Regions from separate parts of the Homo sapiens genome. Here regions 2, 3 and 4 are each linked to region 1. The links are contacts of gene promoters, found by promoter capture Hi-C in blood cells and fetal thymus (Javierre and others, 2016). All regions are on one chromosome and are shown on one strand. The core of a region is centred on a gene start or on the middle of the fragment in contact, and the rest is flanking DNA. Distances in the headings are between cores, read along the strand shown. Region 1 holds the start of FAM237A (family with sequence similarity 237 member A). Region 2 holds the start of CRYGA (crystallin gamma A). Region 3 has its middle 32 kb from the start of CRYGD. Region 4 overlaps LOC105373854 (a long non-coding RNA gene).

Region 1 (6,016 bases), core at 1,580-4,079:
TATAGTATTTACTTCAATGAAAAACTCTAAATTTGTAGCAAGTTCCAACTTACTAAAAATTAATTACTCAGATTGCTGCAAGTTAATTACTTACTTGAGATTCATTCAAAAAGCAACATGAAGTGAATCTACATGCCAGCTGACTTTTTTACTCTTTATTTCTTCAACTGAATACCTCTCAAAGAGCCTCTCTATTTACATGAAAGCAATATTTATTTTCAGTTTAACAAGGGCAAGAATTTGTGTGCTGCAAATGTTTCCTAAGCTTATATTCAAGTCTTCTCAATTCCACGGCAAGTAAACATCAGGTTATGACTGCCAGTGTTCAGGCTAATAGTAAAAAATAATGTTGATCTTGGGGGATCTGTTTATACTTTTATGCTGTATTTTGGGAATCATGCTTTTTGTCTTTTCTTTCTGACTCTTCCTTGCTGCTGTTCACAGGAAGTATGAGGATGAGGACAATATGTTGATATAAACAGCTACTATGCAATGCAAAAAGAAGTACTATCTATCTTCCTATCAGTTATGTGCTCTTGGGGTTCACCTCTTGAGAGGAATATATATGACACTGGATTCCCCTAATGCCATTTCCCTCTTCCTCACAATTCAGCACATTCATACTTGATTGACCCTTTCAAAAGACATGGGAGCTGGGGTTGACCACCTTGTTTACTCCTTGTGTGCTGTGGCTGCGCTGCTGAGATTTTCTCTTCCTCTCCAACCAATTGCCTCCTTCCTAAGCCATGGTTCCTAGAGAGCACACAGTCCACATAGATGTCCCAGAAGAGTTGGGCCAGATCCCAAAACAGTGCTCCATGCTTCAAGTTCTCAGATGACTTCAGGTAGATCATAAAATCCCAGAAGCCTGAAACAGTGTTGGAAACGCGAGGTTTCCACATTTCCAGGAGAAGCACTGAGGAGGATTCCCAGCACTGAGGATCAGCTTGGCTAAGAGCCAGCAAGTCTGTCTGGCTATGGCAGAAGAAAGGAGATACACAGCACATTCCCACAATGAGCAGGGAGCAGGTGAAGCTCAAGGGGCGGTGGATCCCTCCTCTGTTCCCAGGATCAGCCATGGCCCTAAAACTGCACAGGATGGAAATATTTCTTATCAGTCCCCGCTTGTGCTCTGCTCAGTAAAGAAAATAAGTATGCCCTTAATAACCTTACTTCCAGCAAAGGAAACACATCATTGTCACAAAGTAGGGAAATCTTAGCCAAGCTCCCATATCACAAGCTCCGTTCTATCTAAAATGACTCATTGCCAGGCCAGGGAGTGAACATAAATCCAAGACGGTCAGGCCAAGACATATTCCCTCCTAAGATGTGTTCCTTTACAAGATGAATAAATTAATCTGCTAATCTGTTTTTCTCTGGTACAGAAGAATGTAGCCTAACAGCATACTAAGTGAACATTTAAAATTTTGCTGCATGGCTTTAACTATTCCATAATATCTTAGCGAAACCTGGCTCTCCTAATCTAGGACTTATATATAATTAAGAATTTAAATATATTTAACCTTTAGATCCATTCCTGTTCACTGTGACTTTTAATTTTTTTAAAAAATACATCAGAATTGTCAAATGTTATAGTAAAATTAACAAAAGACAATGTGCTAAAAGTATGGATGAATATATGTGGAAACAAAGAGACATATATTCAACCAATTAGAGTAGAATCAATAAGCATTTTACAAATACCAATAATGTTCTGCAATTCTGATATAACTTTCATAAAGATAATGTTTTATAATCTCTCTGTTCTTGCTATGAATCTCAAGGATTTTTTTTTTAAAAAACGTGACTCTCATTCAACTTTTCTGGCTTTCAATGTCTGTTGCCATAAAATTGAGTCATCTACATACCACTTTGAAATTGTTCTTTTGTTACCACTTCGGACAGGTGCAATGATAAACGATGCTCTTGAAATAATAATAACCCAAATGTTCACTTTTTTTGCCAGAAAAAGTGTATATATTCCTTCACAGACTATACAAAATGTGTATCACATTTAAACAGCTCTAACATAAAGAAAAAATAGGAAGGGCACATACAGCTCACTTTCAGGTTTGTATTATATTTCCAAACCTTTTAGATGTTAGTATCATGAAAGCAAGCAAAATACAGCTTGTGGGAATACTCTTATATTGGAATATTTAATGATAACACCATAAGTTGGATAATCTGTCTCTTCTGAACAGCAGTAGGACATGTTTAGGTACTGTTAAATAAATATTTCAGAAAGTGTCTTTGAACATGCATGTTCCTATATTGAAGAAGCATGTTAGAGATACAAGATTATTCAAAAACTATTTCCTCTATCTTTCATATCATGTATGCATTATCTCTACTTGAAATCATATTTGTTGTGTCCCTTTCCGAACTAAAATATCGAGGTACCTCAAAGGGTGGTTTTCCTAAAGGACAAGTCTAAGCTAAGTTTTCAGAGGGCAGGACTCTGTCCAAGGTACTGAAGTTGGCGTTATCCGGGACTCCCTGTCTGCTGGCGCCACGGCGCTCAAATTGGCTCCTTTAGGTCCCCTTCTAAATTTTAGGAGAGGCTTCCCAGACCCTGGAAAGGTGTTTCTCTGAGTTCCTTGAACCTAGAGTCCTCCGTGCACCCCGCTACGAGCCCCGCGCTGAGTCTCGGCCCCGCACTTGATTGCGCAGCCTCACCCTCCGCAGGGCGGAGCTGCCAGGGACCCACTCTGTCCTTTGGGCCCCACTCACCTCCTGACTCGGCGGCTCTACTCCCAGATGGCACAAGGGCTTCCCTCCGCACTCACCCGCCTGGCCCCTTCCGGGTTCCCTCGAACGCGTGGAGAGAGTTCCCTCGAGTACGCGGAGAGGAAACGCTCAGGCTGCTCCCGAGCGAGTGGCTGTCCCCAGCTTCCGCGTCCTGGAGGCTACCGTGCCTCTACTTAAGCAGTGGGAGTGCTCGGCGCCTCTCCAAGTCTACGTCAAAGCTCCTGGAAACTGCCGCCACCTCTCGCCTCCAAGTCCGTCTCCCGCACCCTCCTCTTCTCTCCCTCCCCGGAGAATTTCGGTTCAGGAAACCAGCGGGCTTGGCCACACACACTCTCATTGGCCTTGACCCGCACCCACTCTGCACCTGCCGGAATTGAGCCTCTAATGCGGCTGGGCTTCCCGCTCCCACCTCGCGGGTGCGTGCCGATGCGGCGGGAACTGCAAAGTTAGGGCCCAGCTCCGCGCTGGTCCAGGGGACAGCAGGGGTTCCCGCTCACCACACGGGCCTCGTCCGAGAATAAAGGGGTGTGAGGGAAGACTGTGGACTCTTGGGGTCGGAGGAGGGACATGAGCTGCCTCTCGACACTCAGCAAGGGCTCAGAGGAAATAAGGCGCCTCCTCGAGATATTCCAGGTGTGAATTTCTCCTGCCTGTAGCCCTGGGCCGAAAGGAGAAAAACACCCCCGAGGGCAGAGATGAGGATAGGGACTTCGCCCTGCTGGAAGCTCCCCCTGACTGTTGCCAGGACACCCCGTTGTTTCCAGACCCTGGCCTGGGTCACTCAGGAGACTGGGTTGCTGCTGGCATCGCTTTGGTCAGCACCTCAACCCCCCAACAACCCCGCTCCAGATTTCACAGCAGGGTCCCAGCTTTCCAAGAAAAAAAAAGCGCCTGGGATTCCCTTTGATTCTCACCTCACAGCTACTTACTATCCCAGTCCCAGATTAGAGCCCTGTCACTGCTCCAGTGCTCCTCTGAGCATAAGTGCCCATCTTAACTGAAACACACCCAGCCAAGGGGCCTGAGGCAAAGGTCTTCCCTCTGCAAGTGTTTCCACGTTTTGCCCCTTTCCTGAAAATTCCTTCAGCCCCTGAAAACCACTTGTAGTCTCCACTAACTGAAGGCTTTTGTGCCAGCTCAATAGTATCCATGGTTACCTTCCGAGGGGCACAAGGCTTTGTAGTAAGATTTGCCGAAGCCACAGAGAACCAGCCCCTTCCCCAAGGTACCATTAAATAGGAGGTCTGAAGAGGAGTTCTGGGGGGCTCTGAGCTATTCCTCCTGCTCAGAAATGATGGAGTGTACTTCAGTTTCTCCATGTGTGAGCTGTATCTAATGTCTGCTTCTATTCACCCCATAGGGCTGTGGAAAAAGATCAAGGGTGAAGTCTTGGACTTGCTTCCTGAACTTTGAGGAGCTCATGCCTTTGGAGAAAACATACTTCAGGACATCATCCAGGAGAAGTTCCCCAACCTAACAAGATAGGGCAACATTTAAATTCAGGAAATCCAGACAACTCCAGTAAGATACTCCATGACAAGATCAACCCCAAGACACATAATCGTCAGATCGAGAAAGCATTTGGAGGTGACTCGTGAATGTCTGGAAAAACGAGTTGTACAGGTATCCTAAAGCCAAAGGGTCAGGAGTGCAGTTTCAGGGGTAGAAGACAGTACAAGCAAAGGCAGGAAGGGAGTGCTCATCGCAGTTCATGCTTCTAGGGAGCGAAGTCAAAGAAAGGACTGTAGAGAGGGAAGGCCGAACAGAACAGAGGTAAAGATGTGTCCCCTGGTTTGGGACGTGTCAATAGTTACATTACTGTTGAAAACATTCATATATAAACATGCAGTGCTTACTTTATTTTCAAGTGCCTATGTGTTAGGCACTATTTTACATGCTGTGTATACAGAAGGAACAAAACAAAGTCCTTGTACGCATGTAGCTTACATGCTAGTTGAGTCTGGAGTGATGGAAAAAAATTATTTATATTTTAATTTTAAAATTATATCTATACACATATATAGTGTATATGTATACGTGTGCACACACATAATATATGATTTATGCTTCTAGTTTCTATGTTGAATGGTGAGTTTACAGCTATCTATCAAAAACAAACACACAACTAGCTAATTAAATACACAAGTAGTGCCATGCATGAGTCAATAAAGTTTATCCGTCATTCTGAAGCCCAAGAAAAAATATATGAGTAAAGTGTCAGATGTGATAAGAAAAACAAAGGGTCAGCCAGGTGCAGTGGTTCATGCCTGTAATCCCAGCAGTTTGGGAGGCCGAGACAGGTGGATCACCTGAGGTTGGGAGTTCAAGACCAGCCTGGCCAACATGGTAAAACCCCATCTGTACTAAAAAAAATACAAATACATACACAGAATTAGCTTGGTGTGGTGGCACGCATTTGTACTCCCAGAAACTCAGGAAGCTAAGGCACGAGAATCGCTTGAATCCAGCAGGCGGAGGTTGCACTGAGCTGAGATCACGCCACTGCACTACAGCCTGGATTACAAAGCGAGTCTCTGTGAAAAAAACAAAGGGTCATCAACAAAAAGTAAAGCAGGGAAAAGGATGATGGAGAAGAGCTATTTTATATAGAATACTAAGAGAAGCCCTTCCTGATAAGAAGATATTTGAGCAAAGACCCAAAAAAGTGAGAGGGTGAGTCATGCATAGTAAAAGAATGCTTCAGGCTGGGGGTGGGAAAACAAGTCTGATGGCTTTGGAACAAGTGTGGTGTGAGAAGGGTGTTTTTGAGGCATAGTGGCAGGACATGAGGTCAGAGAAGTGACCAAAAATCCATGTTGGTTGCTCAGTAGAGAACAGACCAGAGAGGAGCAAGGGACGAGGAGGGAGCTCAGTTAGGAGCTGTTGCAATCAAGGTGGGATAAGATGGCGGAATAGATAAGGGTGGCAGCAGTGGAGAGGGTGAAAGTGGTCAGATTCTGAATATATTTTGATGGTAGAAGGGATAAGACTCATCGATGGACTGGATATAAGGTCCAACAGAGAGAGAGAAGTTGAAGATGACACCAACTTTTGGGGAATAAGTAAATGGAAATTTGAATTTCCATCAGCTGAAAGGAGAAATGATTTGAGGAATAGGTTTAGGAAAGGAAAATAAGAATCTAGTTTTAAACATGTTGAGTGTGAGATGACTGACATCCAAATGGAAATTCCAAGTAGGTAGGGAAGAAGGGGGAACTTACGATAAATATTTGGGATACAGTGCTCAGGAAAGAGGTCCAGATTT
Region 2 (6,016 bases), core at 1,043-3,542, 1.5 Mb before region 1:
AAAGTAATGTCTGTGTCCATGTTAAATTGATGTGCTTGATACCAAAATCATCTTTTATTCTGCAGGTCACTTAGAAAATTGGAATTGTACCATGGAACTTCATAATAGATTCTCTGGGAGCAGACGAGAAGCATCATCTTAAAACCACAGCTCTTGCCAGTACATTTTTCTTTACAACTGTTTTTGGTACAACTGCACTGAAGTGTTATTTTTGATGTTGAGCTTTCTTCTTTTAGAAGCATATTGCATGGCTACATTTTCTTAAAAAAAAAAACTGTGACCTTATGCTACTTCATTGTGACTGGAAGACTGCTGGAGAATTCAGAAAGTATATAGTATTTCTGTGTTAGAGCAAGCTGGCTTTGTAGCACATTTTACAAATGTGTGGCATTGAATATTGCACAGTGATGGAGTGGGAGGCAGATTTCCAAAGAGTTAATCCAAAATAAAATTAATCTGTCATTGATTGCCTTTACTGTGTTCTCATATGAAAAGAATGTTTAAATCATTTCAATAAAGCATTAAAAAAATGAATACAGGCTTTCTCTCAGTAGACTATAATGACTACTAGGAGGGAAGATGTTCTGGTCTTTTAGTACCTTTCCAAAATGCTGATTAGGCACATGGCTTAGCCTATCAATGTATGTAATAACAACTTGATCACATGAATGTCAGTACACATAATACATTTCTTAAGGTTTTGGTGTGCCATCTGTCTACAGAACAGTTTTCATCAGCATGTACAAAAACACAGATGGAGATTGTAGACTTTTTCTGAAAATGGTGGTATATTCTCATGTGGGGCTGGGAGACCAATGCAGCGTTTTCCACACTGGGTTTGATTATGGTTCTAAGATTTACCAGTAAGCCTGCAGCTAATTAGGGGGAGGCAAAGGAGGGAATCAGCAACTTGCGGTCCCTGCATGCACTGCTAGGTGTTTAGCTTCATAGGACTTCACCCAGTTTTCTTTTGCCTAGCTCTGCTAGTTATGAGGAAACATTTTTTTCTCGGTAGCTACTGCTGTCTCTCCTTTTACCACCTGCGCGTTTGCCTTACATGCTGCCTGAGGATTTTCACAAATGACATTGTGAATGTGTTGCTAGCTGTGGTCAAATACTCTTTTAGAATCCCTCGGTGGGTCTAAAGCACAAAGGTGTTTGATTTCATCTTCCTACATACATGTGGAATGACAAAAGACAGTCTGGGGTTTGGAGTCTTCCTCCACACTTGCACATCTGAGGAGTACTTCTAAATCAATAAGTTGGCAGCAATGGAGAAGGCTGTTAGGCAGTCACTTGGGTTCAATGAAACAGTGATACTATTGAAAGGAAAAACACAGGCAAATCATCACGCTAATTTTAAAAAATAAAAGCAATGCTAGAAGGAGGGTGGCAGGGGGAGGGGAGTGAAATGTTCCTGTGTATTTTTCTGCTCTTCGAGCCTCTCACAGATTCTCAGGGTTTCTTTTTATTTTTAGCTCAAGAAGTGTTTAATCTCTTGATTAAATATACCTGCTTCCAGTATTTACTGCTTTTCACCAGCACCTCAAAGTCATACATTTAAAGATTGATTTTATTATTTTTTCATCTCATGAAATTGTTATATTTATAATCGAATTTTTTTTTCTGTCTGGCTGAAGATGGCAGATATAATAGAAAATTAAGAAAACAGCAGCAAAAAACAAAATATAACAACATAAAGCTAAGATCTATAATCTTGCCATTCATTGATTACCATGATTGATATGTTGGTATAGTACACACTTCTAATCTTATGTTTTCCCTACATAAATATAGGCAAAATATTTTTATCAAAACCCTATCATACTGATGAAGTCACTTAAGAAATATAATTGTCTTTCAATTAGAGGATTTTCTGTCTGGGATTTTTTTTGTTGCCTCTTCACACTTCAAGTCCTTCTGGAACGCATGTGTTCTCATAAGTGACCTCAGATGGAACCACCAACCTCCATCTCAGCAGTTTCCATAGGCAAACATTGCAGAATGCTGGGCATGTAATGCATTTCTAGTGAGCTGCATAGGATGAGAAGTGTGCCCTTTGTCTCCAAGGTCATAATGGCTCTGCTGACTTTAATACCTTTCACTGGAGCTAGTGAGGACAACTCGAAAATGCCAGAAAGAGAGAGAGCCCACTGCCCCATGATCTCAAATGAAAAAAAAAAGAGAATACAGAAATCCCCCTACGCACCACCCCCAGGTCCCTTTTGTGTTGTTTTTGCCAACACAGCAGCTTCCCTGCTATATATACCAGTTGCCCCTTTGTCCCTATCATACTAGATGCTAATCACCCTCTGTCAACAACCATGGGGAAGGTGAGCCTGTGGAGGTGCTGTGCCATGTCTATTGGGGGTCTGTGGTGTGTGGGGATGTTCCTTCCAGCTGACTGTCTACTGTCACCTTATTTCTACCTCAGATCACCTTCTACGAGGACCGAGACTTTCAGGGTCGCTGCTACAATTGCATCAGTGACTGCCCCAACCTGCGGGTCTACTTCAGCCGCTGCAACTCCATCCGAGTAGACAGCGGCTGCTGGATGCTCTATGAGCGTCCCAATTACCAGGGCCACCAGTACTTCCTGCGCCGAGGCAAGTACCCCGACTATCAGCACTGGATGGGCCTCAGCGACTCGGTCCAATCCTGCCGTATAATTCCTCATGTGAGTCTTGCTTCAACTTGACTGATGTGAAAGCATCAATGATCCATGGCCATCAATTCCTGTTTATAAAAGTCAGTTTGTTCCAACACAGGATGAGTGTTCACAGTAAGAATAGCAAGGCCTGACCCTCAAACATATATAAAAAAAAAAAGTAACAATAATCTCTATTTTTCTTACTTAAGGACATCATTTTAGGGCATGGGAAATCACAACATAGCCTTTAAATTAAACTTGGTAACATCTAGGTGATCCCTAATTTCTACATAAAAGTCACCTTATTCAGTAGTAAAAAAAAAAAAAAAGAAAGAAAGAAAAAAAAGAAAAGTCTATCTAGTTTATCTAGATAATTTTTTTTTTTGAGACAGAACTTCGCTTTCGCTCTTGTTGCCTAGGCTGGAGTGCAATGGCACAATCTCAGCTCACCACAACCCCTGCCTCCCAGGTTCAAGCGATTCTCCCGCCTCAGCCTCCCTTGTAGCTGGGATTACAGGCATGTGCCACCATGCCCAGCTAATTTTGTATTTTTAGTAGAGACAGAGTTTCTCCATGTTGGTCAGGCTGGTCTCGAACTCCCGACCTCGGCCTCCCAAAGTGCTAGGATTATAGGAATGAGCCACTGCGCCCGGCCATGATAATTATTTTTTAATGATGAAAAGTTAACAGACTATGAGATAACAATATAGGTATAATGTATTCTGACTGCATTGGAAATTTTTTTCACTACATTCTAGGACTTACTAGAACCTAGGAAAATATGTTTCAACTTGTGTGGATTTATAATTTCCAGGAGTCATTATCAACTAGTTTCTTATAAATATCAGAGACACACAATTGATTAGGATTTCATAGAACATGGTCCTCATCAAAATGCTGCTTAATCTTTTTTAATCACGTGCAGCATGTATTTACACTTTCTGTTGGCACCAAATTATGTAGTGTGACAAGGAGATTCAAGAATTGAAATCACGGCCAGGCTCAGTGGCTCACGCCCGTAATCCTAGCACTTTGGGAGGCTGAGCTGGGCAGATCACTTGAGGTCAGGAGTTCAAGACCAGCTTGGCCAACATGGTGAAACCCTGTCTCTACCAAAATACAAAACATTAGCCAGGCATGGTGGTGCATGCCTGTAGTCCTAGCTAAGCAGGAGGCTAAGACAGGAGAATTGCTTGAACCCAGGAGTCGGAGGTTGCAGTGAGCCGAGATCATGCCACTGCACTCCAGCCTGGTGACAGAGCGAGACTTCGTCTAAAAAAAAATAAAAAAATAAAAAAACAAATTTAGGCCAGAAAAATTTGCAGATGCGCAAAGAGGTATAAATAAAATAGGCATTTCTCTGGGGCAAGAAACCCAAATGGCACAAGTGACTTGGCAAAATGTCACTTGAAAATACATGTGGACTCAGTGTAAATATAAATCACTGTAAATTATAAGTGCAAAAAGTGACTCAAAAACAAGCTTGATAAGACTCAATTATATGGAGTCAAAATGGAAATGAGAGTTGAAATCCTCACTACAGACTCACTGACTACAATTGTATTGATGATTGCTTACAAAGAACACACTTTTATTCCCTGTATTTTAATGTTTGTTTCTTCCACAACATCTCCAGTTCATTGATCAGGTCAGATTCGTTTTAATATTTTCCCTAATTTGTTAGAATAACAACATTGAAAGTGGGTTCAGGGGAGAAACACTTTATCAACTGGTTTAAAAAACCATGTTTCAAACCAGGTGCAATCCCAACATTTGTAATCCCAACATTTTGGGAGGCCAAGGTGAGAGAATCACTTGAACCCAGGGATTCAAGACCAGCCTGGGCAATATAGTGAGACTCCCTCTCTACAAAAAAATTTTTAAAAATAAATTAGCCGGGTGTCACAGTGCACACCTGTGATCCCAGCTACTTGGGGGGCTGAGGTGGGAGGATTACTTAAGCCCAGGAGGTGAAAGTTGCAGTGAGCAGTGATCCTGCCACTGTACTCCAGCCTGGGCAACACAGCAAGACCTTTATCTCAAAAATAAAATAAAAGCCATGCTTCATGAAGATGCAGACTGATTGTGTCACTTTCGTTGACACCCAAGGATGCATGCTGTTTATTTTTGTTCTTTTGTTTATTGCCATGACAGACCAGCTCGCACAAGTTAAGGCTGTACGAGAGAGATGACTACCGAGGCCTTATGTCTGAGCTCACTGATGACTGCGCCTGTGTTCCAGAACTGTTCCGTCTCCCTGAGATCTATTCCCTCCACGTACTGGAGGGCTGCTGGGTCCTCTATGAAATGCCCAACTACCGGGGGCGGCAGTATCTGCTGAGGCCTGGGGACTACAGAAGGTACCACGACTGGGGGGGTGCAGATGCCAAAGTCGGCTCTTTGAGACGGGTCACCGATTTGTACTAAGCTGTGCCTGCCTTGTTGTGATCCCCATAGAAACATAATAAATATACAAGTTGTGTTCCCTGCACTAAGTGGCTCTTGTTTATCTTTATTTATTTATTTTATAATTTGTTTTGTTATGGAGTCTTGCTCTGTCACCAGGCCAGAGTGCAATGGCGCTATCTCGGCTCACTGCAACCTCCGCCTCCCAGGTTCAATCAATCCTCCTGCCTCAGCCTCCCAAGTAACTGGGATTACAGGCATGCACCACCACACCCGGCTAAGTTTGTAGTTTTAGTAGAGACGGGGTTTCACCGTGTTGGTCGGGCTGGTCTCAAACTCCCGACCTCAGGTGATCCGCCCGCCTCGGCCTCCCAAAGTGCTGGGATTACAGGCGTGAGCCACTGCGCCCAGCTGAAGAGAGGAGCTCTAAAGAGAACTTCCACGTGGAGAAGGGCAAGCCTGCTTCACTAGGCAATCTGGTAGCAAAAGTGTTAAACCAAGAGTTAAACAGCCTACCTCTGCTACTTACTAGTAGAGTAACCAACCCAGCCCAATTTTCCAGGGACTCTCCCAATTTTAGCACTTGAAGTCTTCTATCCCAGAAAGCCCCTCAGTGTCAGGTGAACCCAAATGGTTGGTTACCCCACTTCCTAGCTTATCTCTTTGAGCACGTCACTTTGTACCATCTCTGTGCCTAAATTACCTTACTGAAAACTGTAAGTAATAATAAATTCTTGCTTCACTAAATCCCAGGATAATCACAATGAAATGATGGGAAAAGATTGTGAGCAAATTTTGTTACCTTTAAATTATTATACAAATGTAAGAATTTAATATATCCACAGTGTCTTCTAAAATTCAGTATCACAATGTGGTCACCTTCTGTTGGACTCCAATATGAATTTTTATCAAGACTAAATTACTGAAGACTCTGGCTGGGCACAGTGGCTCACGCCTATA
Region 3 (6,016 bases), core at 1,036-3,535, 1.5 Mb before region 1:
CAGTGAGCTGAGATCACACCACTGGAATCCAGCCTGGGTGACAGAGCGAGACTCCATCTCAAAAAATAATAAATAAATAAAAATTAAAAAAAATTAAATCTAGACAATAAGGTTTGGTAATTGATTCCTAGAGTCAGGCCAACCTGCGTTTGAATTCTTTTTTTCTCACTAACCAACCAGGAGGCCAGGGGCTAGTGAGACAGCCTCTTTGAGCCTTATTACACAAGATGGTTGACATTGTTGCTATGAAAGACAAATAAGAAATGCATGTTAAGTATTTAGAACAGGACCTAGCATATAATAAATACTCAATAGACTGGGTGCACTGGCTGATGCCTGTAATCTGAGCACTTTGGGAGGCAAGGTAGGAGTATTGTTTGAGACTGGGAGTTCAAGACCAACCTGGGCAACATAGTAAGACCTCACCTCTACAAAAATAAATAAATATATACATTTTTTAAGTGCTCACTATGTGTTTCTGTGGCTGTTGTTATATCTATTGTATTGTATTCTACATTGTATATTTTATTATTGTCTAGTTAATATATTATTATCCTTTTCATCAGTTAGAATTGAGTTTTTATTTAGATTCAAAGCACCACAAATACCCACTGCAATCTTAAAAACAACAATTCATATCCCTGGTTTTGATACCCATAGTTGTAAGAAAAGCAAGAGAAAACCGGCTGGGTAGAGCGGCTCACACCTGTAATCCTAGAACTTTGGAATGCCGAAGCAGGAGTATTGCTTGAGGGCAGGAGCTCAAGGCCAGCCTGGGCAACATGTTGAGACTCTATCTCTACAATCTTTAAAAAGTTAACTGGGCCGGGCGCGGTGGCTCACGCCTGTAATCCCAGCACTTTGGGAGGCCGAGGCGGGTGGATCACGAGGTCAGGAGATCGAGACCATCCTGGCTAACAAGGTGAAACCCCGTCTCTACTAAAAATACAAAAAATTAGCCGGGCGCGGTGGCGGGCGCCTGTAGTCCCAGCTACTCGGGAGGCTGAGGCAGGAGAATGGCGTGAACCCGGGAAGCAGAGCTTGCAGTGAGCCGAGATTGCGCCACTGCAGTCCGCAGTCCGGCCTGGGCGACAGAGCGAGACTCCGCCTCAAAAAAAAAAAAAAAAAAAAAAAAAAAAAAAAAAAAAAAAAAAAAAAGTTAACTGGGCGGCCAGGCCTGTGGCTCACACCTGTAATCCCAGCACTTTGGGAGGCCAAGGTGGGCAGATCAGGAGGTCAGCAGATCAAGACCATCCTGGCTAAAACGGGGAAACCCAGTCTCTACTAAAAATACAAAAAATTAGCCAGGTGTGGTGGCGGGCACCTGTAGTCCCAGCTACTCGGGAGGCTGAGGCAGGAGAATGGCGTGAATTCAGGAGGCGGAGCTTGCAGTGAGCTGAGATGGCGCCACTGCACTCCAGCCTGGGCGACAGAGCGAGACTCTGTCTCAAAAAAAAAAAAAAAAAAAGTTAACCGGGCATGGTGTTGAGTGCCTGTAATCCCACCTACTCAGGAGGCTGAGGCAGGAAGATCACTTGAGCACAGGGGGTGGAGGTTGCAGTGAGCTATGATGAAACCACTGCACTCCAGTCTGGGTGACAGAGCGAGACCCTGCGAAAGGAAGGAAGGAAGGAAGGAAGGAAGGAAGGGAGGGAGGGAGGGAGGGACTTAGCTGTCATTATTTTTATCCTGCCTAAGGAAAACAAGCCAGAAAATATGGACTGGAAATTCAGTGAGTCTTCTCCCAAGAATATTTGCTAATTGCATTTTCGAATGAGCCTCATTCTTTCTCTCACTTCTTTTCAAGTCTTGCAAGTTTTTAACTTAGAAATTTTTCAGGCTTAGAAACTTAGATGGCTCACGCCTGTAATACCAGCACATTGGGAGGTCAAGGTGGGAGGATTGATTGAGCCTGGGTATTTGAGACAAACCTGGTCAAAAAAGTGAGACCTCACTTCTAAAAAATAATTTTTAATTAATTAATTAATTTAAATCGATCAATTAAATTTGTTAATTAAATTTTTCCACCTTATATTTTCAAAAATAATGAATTTTTTTAACATTTTCAATAGCCCAACCTAAATTTATAATTAAAGATAAAGTGGACTGTTTCAAGAAGTCTAAGTGAACAGAAATCTCCCTTGCTAAAGATAAGGGTTCAAAGCTTTACATTTAATCCTCAAAATAAATTAGATCCAATCTTGCTTTGAGAGCACCCAGCAGATGAGCAACAGCTGTTATGTTTGACATACATTTGACCTTCATTTCTGTCTTCTAGCAAAATAGGAAAGTAAGATTAGCTTATATGAGATCAGAATAGAAATAACTGAACTGAGATCACTGTTATAATATGCTGGGCAGGACTCTTTCAGTTGCAAGTGACTAAAACTAACTCACACAAGCTTAAACAAAAAGAGGATGTATTGCTCCACATAATCAAAAGCCTTCAGGCATGGCTGGATGCAGGGGCTCAGGTGAGATCGTCAGGAGCTGGTCTCTGTAGCCCTCTCCTTCCTCCACTCTGCTTTCCTCTATGTTGGTTTTATTCTCAGGCAGGCTCTTTCCATATGGTGGCTGTGGTAGTTAATTTTAGGTGTCAACTTGTCTGGGTTAAGAAACCCAAATAGCTGGGAATACATTATTTCTGGTATATCTGTGAGGGTATTTCCAGAAGAAATTGGCTTTTAAATCAGTAGAGTAAGGAAGACCCATCCTCACCCAATGTGGGTGGGCACCATCTGATTAGTTAAGGGTCCAAACAGAACCAGAAGGCAGAGGAAAGCTGAATTTGCTCTCTCTTCTGCAACTGCGACACCATCTTCTCCTGCCCTTGGACATCAGAACTCCAGGTTCTCTGGCCTTTGGACTCCAGGATTTGCACCAGCAGTCCCTCAGTTTCTCTGGACTTTGGTCTCAGACCCAGAGTTACACCAATGGCTCTCTTGGTTCTCAGACCTTTGGACTTGGACTGAGCCATGCTACCAGCTTCCCTGGTTCTCTACCTTGCAGGTAGCCTGTCAGGGGACTCCTAAGCCTCCATAATCACAGGAGTCAATTCCCATAATAAATCCTCTTTCATCTATCTGTCTATCTATCTCTCTATCCATCCATCCCATTGGCTCTGTTTCTCTGAAGAACCCTGACTAATTCAGTGGTCCTCAACTGTTTCAGCCTTAGAATACTCTAAATGGCTGAAGCAAACCCTGGAGTTGGGAGATAGAGTCAATGAGACTTAAGCCACATGGAATGAGAATGAGGAAGAGGTCACATGTAGGTCAAACATAACAGCTGTTGCTTATCTTTTACTGGGTGTTCTCTAAGCAAAGTTGGATCTAAAGTATTTTGGGGATTAAATGCAAAGCATTGAACACTTATCTTTAGCAAGAGAGATTTCTGTTCATTTAGACTTCTTGAAGCAGTCTACTTTATCTTCAATTATAAATTTAGGTTGGGCTATTGAAAATGTTCACAAAACTTCATTACTTTTGAAAATATAAGCTGGAAAAATTTCTTTAATTAACAAATTTAATTGATTGAAATTAATTAATTAATTTTTATTTATATTTTTATTGAGATGAGGTCTGTTTTCTAAGGAAAAGAGGAGTACTTGAAGGTAGAATGGATTCCAAGAAGAAAAATCAAAACAAAACAAGTGCTCCACCAACATTGCACATGTATACATATGTAACAAACCTGCATGTTGTTCACGTGTACCCTAGAACTTAAAGTATAATAAGAAGAAGAAGAAGAAAGAAAAAAAAAAACAAGTGCTCATCACCTGAGTATGCTCACTACAAAGTCCAAAGAAAATTGATAACTTGCTTCATGCCACAGCATGTAGCAGACACTCCTGCTAACAAACAGGCAAACTAGTCACTGGCTCCCTCATTCACTAGGAACACAGACACTGACAGTGGAGTCTATGGAGAGCATCTCCGATTTCCCAGTTAGCACCCTATCACATGCAGCTTTATGAAGTAGAACATGTTTCTTCTTCCTTGAAATTTAGACTGTTTTAAGCCTGGCATGGTGGCTCATGCCTGTAATCCCAGCACTTTGGGAGGCCGAGGCGGGTGGATCACCTGAGGTCAGGAGTTCGAGACCAGCCTGGCCAACATAGTGAAACCCTGTCTCTACCAAAAATACAAAAGTCAGCTGGGCATGGTGGTGGGTGCCTGTAGTCCCAGCTACTGGGAAGGCTGAGGCAGGAGAGTTGCTTGAATCTGGGAGGCGGAGGTTGCAGTGAGCCAAGACTGTGCCATTGCACTCCAGCCTGGGTGACAAGAGCAAAACTCCATCTCAAATAAATAAATAAATAAATAAATAAATAAATTTAGACTGTTTTAAAAAATATGACTGAAAAATTTCAGGTTAGATAAGCACTTCCTGTTGGTAAAGGTGAGTAGACCCTGGAATGGAATTATTATGTAAAGTTTTAAGATTTTTCTATCATGAGCTATGTAGAAAATAGGGCCAATAAACTTACTGATCTCTTAAAGGCAAGCCTTAGAGTAATCTACAAATAAATAAATAAATTTAGACTGTTTAAAAAAAAGTGTACTGAAAAATTTCAGGTTAGATAAGCACTTCCTGTTGGTAAAGGTAAGTAGACCCTGGAATGGAATTATTGTGTAAAGTTTTAAGATTTTTCTATCATGAGCTGTGTAGAAAATAGGGCCAATGAACTTACTGATCTCTTAAAGGCAAGCCTTAGAGTTATCTACAAATTATCCCATGCCTTTGAATGGCCAGGTCTCTTCAGGGTTCTCCAGAGAACTAGAACCAACAACATATGTGTATATAAGAGGAGATTTGTAGTGAGGATTGGCTCATGTGATTATGAAGGCTGAGAAGTCCCACAATTTGCTGTTTGTAAACTGGAGAACCAGAAAACTGGTGATGCAATTCCACTGGAACTCTGAAGTCCAAGTCTGAAGGCCTGAGAAACAGGAGAGCTAATGGTGTATGCTCCAGTTCAGACCCAAAGGCCTGAAAACCAAGAGCACTGATGTCTGATGGCAGAGAAAGACAGATGTCCCAGCTCAAACAGAGTGAATTCACCCTCCTCTACTTTTTTGACCTATTTGGGCCCTAAAAGGATAAAATTATCCATAAAATGATAAAATTATTGTATTGATGAACTTAATTTTCTTTACCGAGTCTACTGATTCAAATGTTAATCTCTTCCCAAAACACTTTCACAGACATACCCAGAAATGTTTTACCAGATATTTCAGCATCCTTTAGCCCAGTCAAGTTGACGCGTAAAATTAAGCAACCCACTACTATATACCTAATGTGGTCCTTCAATCTATTATCTCATTTTGAAAACCAGACTTTGAACTTCTGTAAAGTTCTGTACTGCTCTGAAATCAAGGCTTTGTAAAGCTCCCACTTTTAATGAGCAGTAGGATGATGCAGTGAGAAGTTAGATTTGGAATCACAAGCTTGGAAGCCAAGTCTCAAATGTGCTTCCTGTTATTTGCATGATTTTATGCAGCTCTGAGCCTCAGTGTCCTTGTCTCTCAAACACCAACAGAAATTCCTACCCTACTACCTTGCCAGAATTTTTTAAGAAGCAAATGCGATAATTGTTCAGGAAGCCAATATTTAAACTAGAAAGTGTTCTACTTTTTTGTAAGGTAGACACATGGAGCTACTCTATAATTAAATGACTACTTGCAGAGTCATTCAATGTCAAGCCAGTTTCCTTCACTCTCCTCCAAGTGGGCAGTTATTAATATTTAAATATTTTTTTAAATGCTGATGGAAGCTAATTTAAGACAGCCTGCCTTTCTTTTAGAGAAATAAAACTATCTTTTCTTCTTTAATAAAGATATTTATGAATTCATGGACTTTAACTCCTTTTTTTTTGTAATAAATCTGTTTGTCTTCAGATTATGGAAGAGTGTTATGAGATTTTAAAAGAAATCTGTATTTTTTTTTTTTTTGAGACAAAGTCTCACTTTATTGCCCAGGCTGGAGTGCAGTAGCGCAATCTCAGCTCACTGTAACC
Region 4 (6,016 bases), core at 1,183-3,682, 1.4 Mb before region 1:
GTCTGCAAAGAGTCCTGTGATGTGCTCCATCTTCAGATCTCTCAGCTGTGGATACCAGCACCTGCTCCAGTGGAGGTAGCAGAGGAGTGAAGCGGACTCTGTAAGAGTACTTGGTTGTAGTTTTGTTTAGCGTGCCGGTTTTCTCAAATGCTGGTTGTACTGACAGTAAAGCTATCATGTGGACAGACTTAGGACCTCTGGTTAGCCAGGATGTTACAGGCAGTGGAGTTAACCATTGTTTTCTCCTTTCTTGGGGCAGGGTTATTCTTTGATGAGTTGCTGTAACAGTTTGTGTTGGTTGGCCTCCAGCTAGGAGGTGGCGCTTTCAAGACAACTTCAGACAACTTCAGCTGCGGTAGTATGGGGGGACGCAAGCTTGCCCTAGGGTCTCCTGGATGAGCCTTCAGGTTTCTCAGGTGATGGGCGGGGCCCTAGAACTTCCATGAGTTGTACGTCTTTTGTTTTTGGCTACCAGGGCAGGTGGAGAAAGACCATCTATCTGGTGGGGGTAGAGTCAGGTGGGTCTGAGCTCAGACTCTCCTTGGGCGGGGCTTGCCGCAGCCACCTTGGGGGAGGGGGTGTGGTTCTCAGGCCATTGGAGTAGGTTCCCAGTAGGACTATGGCTGCCTCTGCTGTCATACAGGTCGCCAGGGAAGTTGCGGAAAACTGGCAGTGACGGGCCTCACCCAGCTCCCACGCAGACTGAAAGGCCAGTCTCACTCTCCCAGTGCTCCTCGACAGCACCGAGTTTATATCTAGGTGAGTTTATTTGCCAGTGAGCAGGACTGGGAACTCCCTCCACCGCCACCATACAAGCCTCGCGCCTAATAAAGCAAGCAGGGCTTTCAGGCCTTCCCCTCCTCGCTGCGGCTTCTGTGCTCCTATCTGGACTTCCTGTTTGCCCCCGACCCCAGATTCTGCTCTGGAAAATTCATGCTTGAAATCATTATAAAGTTCAGCTGGAAGTTTCCTTCTCCCTGTGGGCTTTCCCTAATTCCACTGGCAGCCCGCTCCCCACAAGGGCCCCTGTGAGATAAAGTCAGAAATGGGTTCTCTGAGCTTCCCTGGGGACCGGGAGTGCCTACAGGGCTCTTCCTGCTGCTGCTTCTACTTTTATATTTTGCTCAGCTCTCTAAATTCGCCTCAGCTCTAGGTAAGGTTAAATCCTTCTCCCATGATATGGATTTTCAGGCTCCCCAGTGAGGATGTGTGTTTGGAAAGAGACTTTCCCCCTCTCACACTCTGGGCACTCACGGTTTTTCAGCTGTGTCTTGGAGTTTGCAGCGGCAAACTCTTCTTTCAAAGGGTCTGTGAATTCTTTTGGTTTTCCTGGTATGTTCTTGCAGTAGTTCTTGGAGCAAAAGTTCACAATGTGAGTCTCCTCATGCTGCAAGTCAGCATGAGAGCTGCAAGTCAGTCCTGTCCCCCATCTGGCAGCTATTTTTATTATGCCTTCTCTTGCCATTCTTGAGAATGTCCAGTGATTGTCTTCCAAGGAAAAACTTTGTATGCTATATTTTCTACCATGCTATTTCATCATCAAATCCTAAATTATCTTTCTAGGTGTGATGAATGAGACAAAAATGCCTGGGATACTTTCCCATATCACTCTGAAGCATCAGCATCCGAAAAAGAAGCAGATGGCACACTCAATATGGATAAATTGAGGATATTTTAATAAAGGGTCTATCTATAATGGTGTAAGCCAGATTAGGGAAACTAGAAAAGAGAAAGTGTAGCACCCTGGAGCTAGCAGTGGGGGAAGCCATTACTTCCTCCCAACTCCCTAACCTAAGGCTCAAGGAAAAAGAGCAACTGTTGCAACCCAGAGAGCTTAGCCATCTAGGGAGGTCTTCTGAAAAGAGCAGTGGCCTTCAGAAGAAGGATGCAGCCAACCTGTGGAGACACAGCAATAGGGAAACAGGTGAATAAATATCCTGGCCTCACTCTTCTCCCACTCTCAGATCCCTTAATGGTATTCACCCTTGGCCAAACTCAAACCACGGGCAAACAAAGCAGTTGAGCCCCCCATAATCATGCTGTTCTTTGTTCTGTTAGATCTTGGAAAGAGTGACATCCCTCCTCCATTCTAGCTTGTCACTTTTTAGGACTTTTTTTCTCAGCCACACAAGGATGACTCAAACACCCCTAAAGTGCAATGTTTTAGCGGGGAAGAATTTTTGATGGAAGTCTAGAAGTACTGAGTGTACAAGTACCTAAATGCTTACTTCACTCAAACAACCTCTGGACCAAAGCATCTCTCTTTCCTAGTTTAGAAACTAGTGATTAGCAAGTGATTAGTAATTGACATCCAGTTTAAAAATAAAAGTTGACTTGACTGATTTCATCATTGAAACTAGTGCTAAATCCTTTGGACTCGTTTAAATATTGGATTCATAACACAACAAACATTTATTCAAATTCTACTATGGCTCAGGGCCTCCATGCATGCTATGGCTTAAGGACACAGGCACATAAGACATCAAATAGCATATTTCTTCACTCAACAAGTGTTTCTTGAGAGCTTTCTATGTGCCAAGTACTACGTGAGATTTATAGTCTAGAGGGAGGGAGGCAGAACAGTAATAACGGTAAATGAGATAATTATAATGCAAGGTGATAGTATTTTAATAGTTATGTGAGTCTATAGAGTTATAAAGGCAAAAGAGAAAAACCCTCATGGCTTGTTATGCGATGAAGCTAATGCTGAACAAATACCACATATTCCTGAGTATGGTCTTCCTGAAGACCAAATTCTTCCTTTTTTTTTTTTTTAAGATGGAGTCTCGCTCTGTCGCCCAGGCTGGAGTGCAGTGGCGCGATCTCGGCTCACTGCAAGCTCCGCCTCCCGGGTTCACGCCATTCTCCTGCCTCAGCCTCCCGAGTAGCTGGGACAGGCGCCCGCCACCACGCCCGGCTAATTTTTTGTATTTTTAGTAGAGACGGGGTTTCATCGTGTTAGCCAGGATGGTCTCGATTTCCTGACCTCGTGATCCACCCGCCTTGGCCTCCCAAAGTGCTGGGATTACACCAAATTCTTTATATACATAATTTTAGAAAATATTTAAAAATGAGTCCTTCTAGAACAACTGTATACTACTAATGCTTTGTATTTATACCACTCAAAAATGTTTGCTGGGCACAGCAGCATGGACCTCTGGTCCCAGCTTCTCAGGATGCAGAGGTGGGAGGATCTCTTGAGCTCAGGAGTTCAAGACTATAGCACACTATAATTGTGTCTGTGAGTAGCCACTACACTCCAGCCTAGGCAACATAGCAAGACCCTGCCCTTTCAAAATAAATTTTTAAATAAAAAAATTTTTAAATCTTCAGAAGGCATTGTAATGGTTAAATATCATTCATTCATTAACAAACAATTATTCAGCACTTATTATAAGCTAGCAATTTACCCCAAGTCATATGGTTCTGAAATAACAGAACCCAAGTCTGAACCCAGCCTGATTCCAAATCCACGCTAGTTCCTCCACAGTAGAGAGAAGAAGAGGAAAATTTGTGAAGGAGAAAAATATTCCTATAAATGTGAGGAACTGAGCATTTTTGTGGAAGAGGAATGAAATCAGAGTGTATCAAGTCAGGACAATAGAAGCCACTCTTTCAATCCAGGGGAATTTAATTCAGGAAATAGATTATAAAAGTGATAGAAGAGCTGAGATGCCAAACGGGGTGGTGACGTAACCCGGAGATTAGCGACAGCAAGAATCAGCTAACATCCGTGGGCTGGAGGGACAGTAGGAAGAGATGCTATTCTCAGCCTAAAAGCTAGAATTGTCTGGCTGGAAATAGAACCATTATAGAGGCTCCCTTGCAGGGGTCTGGACCATGGAGGGAGGGCCTTTCAGAGGGAGTTAGAGCCTTGAAAGAGACTCTGCTGCTGTGGAAGACATCACAGGAAGCACAGAGAGGCGGGAGAAATACCCATCCACTCATGCCTGTCCCCAGCAGAATATACAAAACTCACGGAGCAAGGAAGCCTGCAGACTAAAGGTTCCCACAGTGCAGAACAGGGCAGGGTGAGGAATCACGCTGGGCAGTTGACAGGCTCAGAGCTTCCAGGAAATATTTATGTAATTTATGTAATGTAGTTTTATGTAACCACTTACCCTATCAGTACTATCCGTTTTTCAACACTCTAGGTCTTACTTCTTGGTCTTAAAGAAAACAGAGGGCCAGGTGCAGTTGCCCATGCCTGTAATCCCAGCAATTTGGGAGGTTGAGGCAGAGGGATGGCTTGAGCCCAGGAGCTTGAGACCAGCCTGAACAACATAGCAAGACCCTCTCTCTATTTAAAAAAAAAAAAATTTTAAAGTGAACAAACAGGCCTTGCTGCGTTTCCCCGTTTCTTACCATTAGATCATACCCTTTTTGCCCTACCACATTTCTCCACAGTGGTCCACTCTTCACTAAACCTACAATAAACAACGCTCACATTTAACTGCTTCTTTGGGTCTTCATTTCCTTATGAAGCTTCCCATGTCATGTAAAACTTAAATAAGTTTGTTAATCTATCTTTTGTGCTAAGAATCAGAAAGAGTAGAGGAAAAAATATTTTTTTCCTCCCCTACACAATTCTATGGGACAGATATTGGCATGTCCATTTTAACAGATGAAACTCAGAGAGTGAATGACCTACCCGAAGCTCAGAAATGGTAACTGGCCAAGTAAAACTCACTCCTTTTGTAGTTCAGGAGCATGATTTGGTGTTTGTGCCTAAGTGTGATATGTGCCTCCCTCTGAACCTTGTTACAGCGCTGGCACATTACCCATCCAACCTGAACAACAACAACAACAAAACTCAGTCCTAGTTCTTCTGATCATAAGTTTAGTGCCCTTGCCACCTCAACACAACCACCTCCCCATGAGAAAGAAGCTTCTGTATTCCTTCCATACTGGGAAGGCACTGTTAAAGTTGAGTGAACTTTATCTTGTATTATTCCAGCCATCTGCTCTATGATTATGATTTTGGTATAAACCTTAAGGCTTTACCAAGGAAAATCACTATTAACTTTTTCTGCTCACCTTTTTTTCTTTTTTTTTTCGAGACGGAGTCTTGCTCTGTTGCCCAGGCTTGAGTGCAGTGGCGCGATCTCAGCTCACTGCAACCTCCGCCTCCTGGGTTCGAGTGATTCTCCTGCCTCAGCCTCCCTAGCAGCTGGGATTACAGGCACACGCTACCATGCCTGGCTAATGTTTGTATTCTTAGTAGAGACGGGGTTTCACCATGTTGACCAGGCTGGTCTTGAACTCTTGACCTCGTGATCTGCCCACCTTGGCCTCCCAAAGTGCTGGGATTATAGGTGTGAGCCACCGCTCCTGGCCCTTTTCTGCTCATCTTTAACAAAATATTGAAATGTGTTTTCAAGGCTGGGTGTGGTGTCTCCCACCTGTAATCCCAGCACTTTGGGAGGCTGAGGCAGGCCGATTACTTGAGCTCATGAGTTCAAGACCAGCCTGGGAAACATGGCGAAATCCCATCTCTACAGAAAAATGCAAAAATTAGCCAGGTGTGGTGATGCATGCCTGTGGTCCCAGCTATTCAGAAGGCTGAGGCATGAGAATCACTTGAACCCAGGGGGTGCAGTGAGCAAGATCATGCCACTGTACTCCAGCGACAAGAATGAGACTCTGTCTCAAAAAAAAAAAAACAACAAAACAAACAAACAAAAAAACAAAAAATAAAAAAAGAAGAAAAGAAGCCAGATGCAAAAAAGTACATATTGTATGATTTCATTTTTATAAAATATAAAAACATGCAAAAGAACTCTATACTGTTAAAATCACAAGGGCACGGGTGGGTTTCTGGGTTTCTGGTGACATTCTGTTTCTTGATCTGTGTACTGGTTACAGGGGTGTGACCAGTTTTTGAAAATTCATTGAACTAGACACTTACAATGTGTGCACTTTTCTGTATATATGTAATACTTTAATAAACAGGGTTTTTAAGAGTAGCGTAAGTTGCTTGAAAAAAATTTGCAGGATAGATGCCTTGAATTTATAT

What was found. Contacts are between HindIII fragments. The CHiCAGO score rates a contact against its expected background, and 5 or more counts as called.
Region 2: the fragment with the promoter of CRYGA here is called in contact with the fragment with the promoter of FAM237A in region 1 in 5 of 17 cell types (non-activated CD4 T cells, total CD4 T cells, total B cells and 2 more); the score reaches 8.1 in non-activated CD4 T cells.
Region 3: a fragment that was not itself captured here is called in contact with the fragment with the promoter of FAM237A in region 1 in 6 of 17 cell types (total B cells, naive B cells, non-activated CD4 T cells and 3 more); the score reaches 10.7 in total B cells.
Region 4: a contact is called between a fragment that was not itself captured here and the fragment with the promoter of FAM237A in region 1, in 4 of 17 cell types (total B cells, naive CD8 T cells, naive B cells and 1 more). The highest score is 9.0, in total B cells.

Annotation. Positions count from the first base shown.
Region 1 is chr2:206,639,300-206,645,315 of GRCh38, reverse strand. FAM237A (family with sequence similarity 237 member A) reads right to left here and starts at 2,829. Exons shown (of 3, transcript NM_001102659.3): 1 at 2,734-2,829; 2 at 668-1,089. The coding sequence starts at 1,079. RefSeq lists enhancers at 2,478-3,057, 3,058-3,639. The HindIII fragment of the contact is 6,542 bases long and covers 268-6,016 here.
Region 2 is chr2:208,159,865-208,165,880 of GRCh38, reverse strand. It overlaps CRYGA (crystallin gamma A), which reads left to right and starts at 2,292. Exons shown (of 3, transcript NM_014617.4): 1 at 2,292-2,333; 2 at 2,435-2,677; 3 at 4,805-5,141. The coding sequence starts at 2,325. The coding sequence ends at 5,077. C2orf80 (chromosome 2 open reading frame 80) reads left to right here. Exons shown (of 9, transcript NM_001099334.3): 9 at 66-534. The coding sequence ends at 74. The HindIII fragment of the contact is 8,974 bases long and covers 1-4,134 here.
Region 3 is chr2:208,089,537-208,095,552 of GRCh38, reverse strand. No RefSeq gene overlaps it. Among named protein-coding and RNA genes, the nearest start is that of CRYGD, 32 kb to the left of the region's middle. The HindIII fragment of the contact is 238 bases long and covers 2,167-2,404 here.
Region 4 is chr2:208,072,836-208,078,851 of GRCh38, reverse strand. LOC105373854 (a long non-coding RNA gene) reads right to left here. Exons shown (of 4, transcript XR_923815.3): 4 at 1,654-1,896. LOC124905439 (small nucleolar RNA U13) reads left to right here and starts at 4,690; the gene lies at 4,690-4,791. The HindIII fragment of the contact is 4,110 bases long and covers 378-4,487 here.